Linked DNA regions of Homo sapiens: region 1 is linked to region 2. The links are contacts of gene promoters, found by promoter capture Hi-C in blood cells and fetal thymus (Javierre and others, 2016). All regions are on one chromosome and are shown on one strand. The core of a region is centred on a gene start or on the middle of the fragment in contact, and the rest is flanking DNA. Distances in the headings are between cores, read along the strand shown. Region 1 has its middle 18 kb from the start of C1S. Region 2 holds the start of C1R (complement C1r).

Evidence for each region. The method cuts DNA at HindIII sites, captures the fragments that hold promoters and counts their contacts. A CHiCAGO score of 5 or more calls a contact.
Region 1: a fragment that was not itself captured here is called in contact with the fragment with the promoter of C1R in region 2 in 9 of 17 cell types (megakaryocytes, M2 macrophages, M0 macrophages and 6 more); the score reaches 9.0 in megakaryocytes.

What each region holds. Positions count from the first base shown.
Region 1 is chr12:7,040,179-7,044,743 of GRCh38, forward strand. It overlaps the pseudogene LOC100419825. Among named protein-coding and RNA genes, the nearest start is that of C1S, 18 kb to the right of the region's middle. The HindIII fragment of the contact is 6,449 bases long and covers 1-4,565 here.
Region 2 is chr12:7,089,122-7,093,740 of GRCh38, forward strand. It overlaps C1R (complement C1r), which reads right to left and starts at 3,324. Exons shown (of 11, transcript NM_001733.7): 1 at 3,266-3,324; 2 at 2,331-2,559; 3 at 935-1,127; 4 at 466-612; 5 at 172-368. The coding sequence starts at 3,267. RefSeq lists an enhancer at 3,372-3,666. The HindIII fragment of the contact is 12,054 bases long and covers 640-4,619 here.

The sequences.
Region 1 (4,565 bases), core at 201-2,700, 51 kb before region 2:
TGTATTTTTAGTAGAGACAGGGTTTCACCGTGTTAGCCAGGATGGTCTTGATCTCCTGACCTCGTGATCTGCCTGCCTCGGCCTCCCAAAGTGCTGGGATTACAGGCGTTGAGCCACCGCACCTGGCTTCTCTGTTTGGTTTTCTATAACATTATTCTTTTTTTTTTATAGAGACAGTGTCTCATTATGTTGCTCAGGTTGGTCTTGAATTCCTGGTCTCAAGCCATCCTCCTGCCTCAGCCTCCCAAAGTGCTGGGATTACAGGCGTGACCCACTGCACCTGGCCAGCATTCTTTTTTTTTTTTTTAAACTGTTGAACACTCTGTAATTATTAGGTAAAATTAATAGTACTTCACAATTATATATATCACTTTACAGTTTACAAAGTTACTAAGTAGACATTTGTTTTGATGCCCCAAAATAAAATTTAACTTCTTTGTCCTCCCTTCTCCCCTCCATCAAGGAAAGACTAAGGAACATTTAATCAGAAAAGGCAATATAAGTGCATCAATCTGTACAGAACTGCAAAGAATAAAGGGGAGGAGGGTAGGACCCTGAAGAGGGCCACAGGGACTTCAGGAAGGAGAAAACCAGAGTGTTAAACGTGAGGAAAGCCCAGGGGTGACAGGGAGTTAACCACCATAAGGGGCAGGTTGTATTCACTACATAAAAGGAGGGGCACACGGCATATGTTTCACATTCTAAAATAATATGACAATATCATAACTGAAGAGCTGAAGTTGAATTTTGTGGTTTCTCAGAACACAAGTAGAAGATGACCACCAACCATGGTTTCTGAATAAACTGAGTTCAAAGTGCATCTGGTTGCAGCAGGGGGCTTCCTTGGACTCTGATACTAGAAATTTAACAAAGGTAATTCGAGGAGCTGCGATTTTACATAGTGGTGGCATCCTAGGGGGCATCTATCGCATCAGTTAAGTTTAATATCTGGCAATCATGGAAAAGGAGTTTCTGAGCAGGTAATACTTGGGCCATCTCTTGGAGATTCCTGCTGTAAGGACTAAGTTTCTCCAGAGAAAGCACTTGCCTGGGTATGACTCAGGGCCGGGCAAAAATTCACACTATGAATCTGGTGGAAGGGGGAGAAGTATGCCTGGTGGGACCACATTCCCATAATTCTCTAACCTCACATCTCTGTAGAGTTCCCTCTGAACAAGGTCCAGGTATCTCCATTCCTCTTGAGTAAGGTGCACAGCCACATCCTCAGATGTCACAAACTGCTGATACCTGGCTGTCAGGAGCGCAGCTGCCTGATCTCCTGGGCTGTCCTCATGGGGAAAGGCAGGCACCTGGGGAACAGGTGGAACCCTAGTGAGTCCCTGTTCCATGTCGGTGTCCTGCACAAAATGAGGCTTTGGAGTCAGACTCTCAGACTGGGTCTCCAAAAACTGAAATCGGACCCTTGGTGAGCCTGCTGCTTCCTGGGCTGGTATTTTCTCCATCCCTGTTCTGGAGGACAATGACCGTCGCAGCTTGCATCAGGACATGGCCACTGGGTCCTGATGGCGAGGCCCGCCCTCGGTCTGTGGGGTGAACTGGGGCTGAAGAGAAATAGGCCTTTGCACCCAAGCATCTGCACACTCTTGGGGAAGGAAACCACTGTCCCATATTCTTTACATTATCCTTGTCATTTAGGATCTCCAGGATTGGCTTCAGTGTTAATGATTCTTTGTCATTATTTTCCTGTAAGAGTGCCCTTTTATCTAAAGATTTCAGTTCATTTATTTGACAGAAATCTTCAACCATATATATAAAAATATATAAATATATATATATACTTTTTTTTGGTGACAGAGTCTCATTCTGTCACCCAGGCTGGAGTGCAGTGGCGTGATCTCAGCTCACTGCAACCTCCGCCTCCCAAGTTCAAGCGATTCTCCTGTCTCAGCCTCTGGAGTAGCTGGGATTACAGGTGTGCACCACCACACCTGGCTAATTTTTGTATTTTTAGTAGAGATGGGGTTTCACCATGTTGGCCAGGCTGATCTTGAACTCCTGACCTCAGGTAATCTGCCTGCTTTGGCCTCCCAAAGAGCTGGGATTACAGGCGTGAGCCACCATGCCCATACTCAACCATATCTTTGAATACTTTCCCATTCCAGTTGTTATATTCTTTTCTCAAAACACCAATCATGTATCTCCTTGATCCATTTTCATCAGCGTCTCTGCGATTTTATCCCTTTGCACTTTTCCATTTTGTTTTGGGTGATTTTTTTCAAGACTGGCCTCCATGTACTATCTATGTTTTCATAGTATGTATTTGACTTCTTGCTGTTTCTATAATGAACTTTTCATTTTTGTGGTGGCTTTCCTGTTATTTCCAATTTCTCAGTTAAGTTCTACCACATCACTTTTTTCTCTCTAAAAATATGCATCTGTTATTCTCCCTTGTATCTTTTTTTTGAAAAAGTCCATGCTTTAACTTTTGTGAGTATAGAAAAAATATGTCTGACATCTTTCTTCTGCTTGCTGGAATAACTTTCTAAAAATAGACTTTATTTTTATAGGGCAGTTTTAGATTTACAGAAAAATTGAGCGTATAGTACAGAGAATTCCCATACAGCTCCTACACGGTTTCCCCATTATTAATGTCTACATTAGGGTGGAACATTTGTTACAATCATGGAAGTGATGTTGATACATTACTATTAACTAATGTCCATAATTTATTCAGATTCCCTTAGTTTTTACCTAATGTCGTTTTCCTGTTCCAGGGCCTCCTCCAGAATACCACATTACGTTTAGTTTTCATGTCTCCTAGGCTCCTCCTGGCTGTTACACTTTCTCAGACCTTCCTTGATTATGATGACCTCGAAGTTTTGAGGAGTACTGGGAAAGAGTATTATAGGATGCCCCCTACTGGAATTTGTCAGATGTTTTTCTCATGATTATACAGGGATTATGGCTTTTGGGGAGGAAGATCTCAGAGGTAAGTGCCATTCTCGTCTCATTGTATTACCATTATTTATTTATTTTTTAATTTTTATTTTTTGAAATGGAGTCTCACCCTGTCGCCCAGGCTGGAGTGCAATGGTGCGATCTTGGCTCACTGCAACCCCTGTCTCCTGGGTTCAAACGATTCTCCTGCCTCAGGCTCCTGAGCAGCTGGGATTACAGGTGTCTGCCACTACACCCAGCTAATTTTTTTTGTATTGTTTTTAGTAGAGACAGGGTTTCACCAGGTTGGCCAGGCTGGTCTCCAACTCCTGACCTCGTGATCCACCCTCCTAGGCCTCCCAAAGTGTTGGGATTACAGGTGTGAGCCACCGCAGCTGGCCATATTAGCATGATTTATGACTGTTGATGCTGACTTTGATCACCTGCCCAAGGTAGTGTTTATCAGATTTCCCCCCTGTAAATTTGCTCCCTGTCCCTTCCATACTGCAGTCTTAGGAAGGAAGTCACTATAAGCAGCCCATGCTTAAGGAGTGGGGAGTTCTGCTCCCCGTCCTTTACGATGGGACAGCTACATAATTTATTTGGAATTCTACAGAGAATGCTGGGGTAACTTTTTCTGAAGTGGTTTTTGATCATCTGTCTTTTGTTTGCTATTATTTTTCCCTTTTCATTGGGGAGTGGTTTTTGTTCATATGTATTAATTCAGATTTGTTTGCTTATTTTGCAACTTAGCTCTCAAATAATTTGAGGGAAGGGATAGGGGATTTTTTTTTTTAGAGGGAATTGGCAGTTCTGACTCCCTCATGTTGTATCTAACCAAGAACCAAGTTGACATTTCCTCTGCTCGATTACTTCTCTCTCCCTCTTTTTTGCATCCCTCTTCCTCCACGCCACTTTTGGAAAAGCACCTCAGCTCCCTGTGGCTGTCAGGGCTTACAGGTAGATTTCATTCAGATATTTCATGTTTAATTACTTGTATTTCACTGACTCAACAGCGATAAAATTGGTTGTGTGGGCCCACCCTCCTCCCTTTGCCTCCCTCCAGGCAATTCTCTCCACTCTGGAATGGGGAAAATAAAGGAGGCATCCACACTGGTCTGTCATCAGCCCTGCCTCCCTGCTGCTGTGCACACTGGGGTCTTGTTGAGGGGTGTTCTCTGCTTCTTCCATGACCCTCCCAAGCCCCTAGTTTTCAAGGATTCTTAATTCTTTTAAGAATTGTAAGGGATCTGCTCCAGGTGACCTTCCTTGTTTTGGTTCCAATTTTCATTACACTTGGCAGATATTTCTTATGGTCAATTATCTGGGCTGTAGCCATTTTCTATTTTCATTGCAGATAAGAGCTTCTTTTCTACTACTCATTTTACTGTTAATTTTGGTATATTCAGGAAAGGAATGAGTAAACATGCCTTTACTGTACCATCTTTTATGGGAACTGCTCATCCTTAATCTCTGTCTTCTTCAGCTTTGCTGGTGTGACTTGCTCTTGATTTTTCTCCTACTGCTGTGCTGTTTCTCAGGCTCCTTTTCCGGCTCCTGCACCTGCCTGTAAATTCTGCTATTCCCCAGGACTCTCTCACTGGCCCCTCTCCCCACCCACCCCACCCCTATTCTATAACGAGCTCCTACTCTACTTTGGGGCCTAC
Region 2 (4,619 bases), core at 2,074-4,573:
AAGGGATCCCCATGACCCAATTCTAGTTGTGTGGGAACTTACCCAGCCCATGGGTGATGTTGGCCGTTCCTGCCCCAGCTGGCCAGGGGATCCAGGAGGAAGTTGGGACAAGAGGAGCCAAGTGCAGACAGAAGGGGAGGAAGGGGTCTTTCAGGGGTAGGACGGCTGTACCTGTAGCTGGTCATAGGGGCAGTGTACTTGCTGGTGGTCATCAATATCAAAAGGCTCCAGGAACTTGAGGTGCAGGGTGAGGCCCCGCTCCACCCGGATGCTGTAGTTGCAGCGCAGGTCAGGGGGGTAGGACCGAGGGTACTCCAGGCTGGAGATGTAGCCTGATGCCTCCGTGTACAGCTCGCTGCTGCACTCAGCTGTGAGAGCAGAGCCACAGGGCATTACGGGGGACTCCAGCTGGCCCAGCAAGCCCTGGCTCAACCCCTTCCCCTCTGCTACACCACTCTGGCTCACCCTGGCAGGAATGCCTGTCTTCCTGAAGCTCATAGCCTGGACGGCAGGAACAGAAGTAGCCTCCAACGTAGTTGTGACACAGGTGCTGGCACTGGGGCTGGGGATCCTCCTCCCCTGATTTGCTCCGGGAAGCACATTCATCAAGGTCTGGAAGGCATTCAGGAAGGAGGGTTAAGCTTCTGCTGGGAGACCTGAGTAGTGGCTCTGATCTTAGGGAGGTCACTCACCAGAGACCTAAAGACAAAGGCATCTTTAGGCCACCTGGACCTCCAGGCCTCTCCAATGCTCTCTGGGGACTGCTCCATGGGGACAGAGCCCAGGTTGACAGGCCTCGTTAGGAAAAGCTCTCTCGAGGGGAGGAACAAGGAAAGCCAGGCTTTCGGCTTCTTTGCATTCAAGATTCCCTTTCTTGGCCCCCCATTCAATATGGCTGAGGTCAGAGAAAAGGGATCCCTGGGGGGCTACTCACCCACAGCTTGGTAGTAGGCCAGGAAGCCCTTGTAGAACATGATGGTCCCATTCTCCTCGTTGGAGAAGTCTGTGTGGAAGGTCAGCAGCATCTTGTTCCCTTGGGACATAAATTCCTTCTTTCCCGGGGGGTTGCCCAGTGGAGAACCCAGTTGCCCACAGAACCTCCCCAGGCTTTTCTTATCAGCAGAGATCTGGTGGAAGAAGGACAGGGGGTAGGAAGAAGATCTGTTGCGGAGTGGCGCACGTGGTGGCTCAGTGATGGTCCTCCTTGTCTCGCCCAGAGTGCATCATGCACCACAATGGCTCTGGCTGGTCACTACCTGCTGGGCTCAGCTGCTGCAAACTTCCCCATGTGACTTTCAGCTGTTCCCTGAGTCTCCCACTGACTCACTCTTTGCGTGTTGTCCTGGACTGGGTACCTCACCCTTTCCCTGTTTTCTGCTCCTCTGGCAGGTTTCAGGTCCTTCTCCATCCCCACCACCTCCTATGGCCTGTTCCCCTGGGGTCCTGGTTGTCTGTACCCAGCCTTTACCTGCCCCTCATTCCCAGAGCTCAGACAGCTCCGCTTTATTTTCTGTCTTCAGATTCCACCTCAGCCTAATCAAACCATTCACACCTCGAGTGCCTCCTGATGCCCTCGGCGGAACATGAGCCCTGAAGCCCACCCATCTCAGTGTCAGCAGGCACTGCCTCGTCCCTCTTCCTTCCTCCTCACAGCCTCCTCAACCTCTCCTTGACTCTGCCAGCAAACGCCCTCCCCCAACACTGCACACTCGCCAAGTCTTCTGAGCCGGTAAGACGTGCCATTGTCATGTAATTCACGCATAATCTCCAGGGGTCTCCTGGGAATGGTAGTTGTTGGACCTTCGCAGGCTCTGCTTGAGCCCTGAATCTCATTTTTACTGGATAGAGAAAGACAGGCCTGGGAAGGTACCCTTGGTTGCCACAGAGGTGAGGGTTCTGAGCACACTGTCCTTGCTGAAGGCTATTCCTGTGCTGCCAGAGCCCACATTTCTCCTCCTCATGTCCCTGTGTTCCTGTTGAAGCAGGCAGCCATGTCAATCATTTCCTTGGAGACAGGGAAGCTGAGGCACAGTGGTTTCCCAAAGACTCTCAGCTAGACAGCAGATGGGGAAGGTTTTCCTGACTCAGTGGATGTTGAATTTCCTGAGTGGGTCCTGTCCCCTTCCTTCTCTGTGCTTCTCCCCTCAGTGCTCACCGAGGGCCTCTACACCAGTGAGCGCCCATCCAGGGCATCCCCGGGCTCTCAGAGAGGCCGTTGGCCATCAGCTCTTGTGGGGCTGGGCTGTGTCTGGGGGTGTGCATGCCATACAGATCCCAGATCCCAGAGGGCCCAGTTTTGTCTCCCCTCTGCCCGCCCATCCTGCCCCTACCTTGACATAATCATAGAAGCAGCCTTCAGAAGGCTCCAGGTCAAACTGCTGGAAGACGAGCTTCACCCTGTATCCCGTGGGGACTGTGATCACAGTGGTTGTTTCAAAGTTGTTGGGGTAAGGCTTGGGGAACAGAGGGGAAGTCACCTCCCCAAATAACTTCTGAGGGATGGGAATGGAGCCTCCTGCCCTGCAGAACAGGGCCGGCACCAGGAGGTACAAGAGCCACCTGCCAAAACAAAAGAGAGTATCTGGAGCTGGAGGGGTTCAGCACTCTTGCCATGTGGGCAGTGGCTGTGGCAGGGGATGAGACGGCCATACCACTGGGCATTCTCCTCTCTGCCCACCCTGAACCTCACAGACATGTTCTCAGCAGGGGTGCGTGGGTGGGGAGGATGGCCTGTGCAGCTGCTGCATCGGGTCACTCTCCAGGGCAGTGTCCAGTCCAGAGGCCACCACACTCCCCTCACACTCCCTTTCCAGCCTCCTCCCCTGCCCGGACGCGTCCCTCCCCTCCCCTTCCAGGAATAGGACTGGCTTGGGACCAGTTAATGGAGGGTGAGGGTTTCCACCCGTGGGTCTCTGAAAGGGCTCCCACAGGTTCAGCAAGAGCGTCTGGGAGAAACCATCTGTGGAGTGGGGGACACAGGCACAGAGTGTCCCGTCCTGGGCAAGGGGTCCCCTCCTCTCGCTGCTCCCTGCCAAGAGCCCAGAGGGAAGAAAGGACCATGGCATGAGCATCTATGTATGAAGTCTCCTCTGATCCCTAGGAGGAGGGATGGGGCGTGTGTTGTGTGTGTCCACGCGTGTGCACAGTGGAACTGATGAGGTGTGTGAAGAGAGAAGGGTGTTCCTGTCTCCCTGAATTGCCTCCCATGCCCTGGCTTCTCCCCTGGCTTCTCCCTCCCACCTGGTTGCCCATCACCCTTACTCACATTTCTCAAGGCCCGTGTTGAATCCTGGGCTCTCCCGACAGCGTCTTCGTGCACTGTGTGCAGAGGGAGCCCGCGTCATGCACAGCAGGGAGGGGAGGGTTTTCTGTGGAGTGGAGGGGGGACCATTCCCGGAGGAATGTTGGAGGGAATGAACTATTTGCATAAACAAAAGATCTGAGTTTCCACTTTAATTTAGTTTTGGTTTTGAAATCCCTGTTTGTGGTGCCACCTGCTGGTCGGTGAGGGAAAGGGCTAAGGAGACGGGAGTCTGGCTTTTTAGGGCCCGGGGAGCCTTGGGTTGGAGGCCCAGATGTCTCAGTCTCTAAATCTGATCAGCTTCTCCCTTCTTCCAAGACTTTCCTGGGGGCTGCTGCTGTGTTTACAAGGTTCCTACCAAAGCAGTGGGAGACCACAGGTGGTGGTGAATTCTCTTTTCTGGGCTGTCCTTTCCCATTGACCCTGTTCTTCCTGCCCTCATTCAGCCCACAGCCCTGGTCCAAGAATGGCCCGGGTTTCAATGCCCAGGACGTAATGATAGGAACACTGGGGCAGAGGAGGGTGTGTGGGAGCGGGCAGAGGAGAGAGGAGCTTGGTTGCCTTGGGGCCCTGGCCTGCTTTAGCCATGAATGACACTTGGACATAGAATAGGGTTGGCCATGTCAGGGCAACCCTAAATCAGCCCTGGGTTTGAGACCCTCTGGGGCGGCTGCGGAGGGGGTAAAATGTCCCCATCTCCTTAGCATCTGCTCAACACAACTGCCAGGGCTGAAGCTAAGGATGCGGGTGTGGAGCAAGAGGGACTCGGTTTTTCTGAGATGAAGCCAGGCCCCTGGGAGGGAGGAGGGACCCTAGTCTCTCCTGTCCATCAGGCCATAGTGTCCTGCTTTAAAACTTTTGCTCTTGGCCACGTGTGGTGGCTCATGCCTGTGATGCCAGCACTTTTCGAGGCCAGGGTGGGAAGATCTCTTGAGCCCAGGAGTTCGAAACCAGCCTGGGCAACATAGTGAGATCTCGTCTCTAAAAGTTAAAATAAATTAAAAAACAATTTCATTGTTTTTGGAAGGCTTTCTTCATCAACTCTCCATGGCACCAAATATCTGATGGCACTTCATCCCACGGAGGGGCTTGGGCTGCAGAGCAGGACTCTGCGTTCTTAAGCCTTTGTAGGCTGTTCTGCTTGTTTCCCTTATTAGATGAATCCCTCCAACCTCCACCCTTCTGCCCCCACCCCCGTTCATCCATTTATGGGCTACCTGTTTAATGTGCAAGACACTTTCCCAGGCAATAGATTGCAAGAATTCACAGAGCTGATGCAGTTCCCCATCAGGCAGTGACCACATCATCAGTAGTTAGA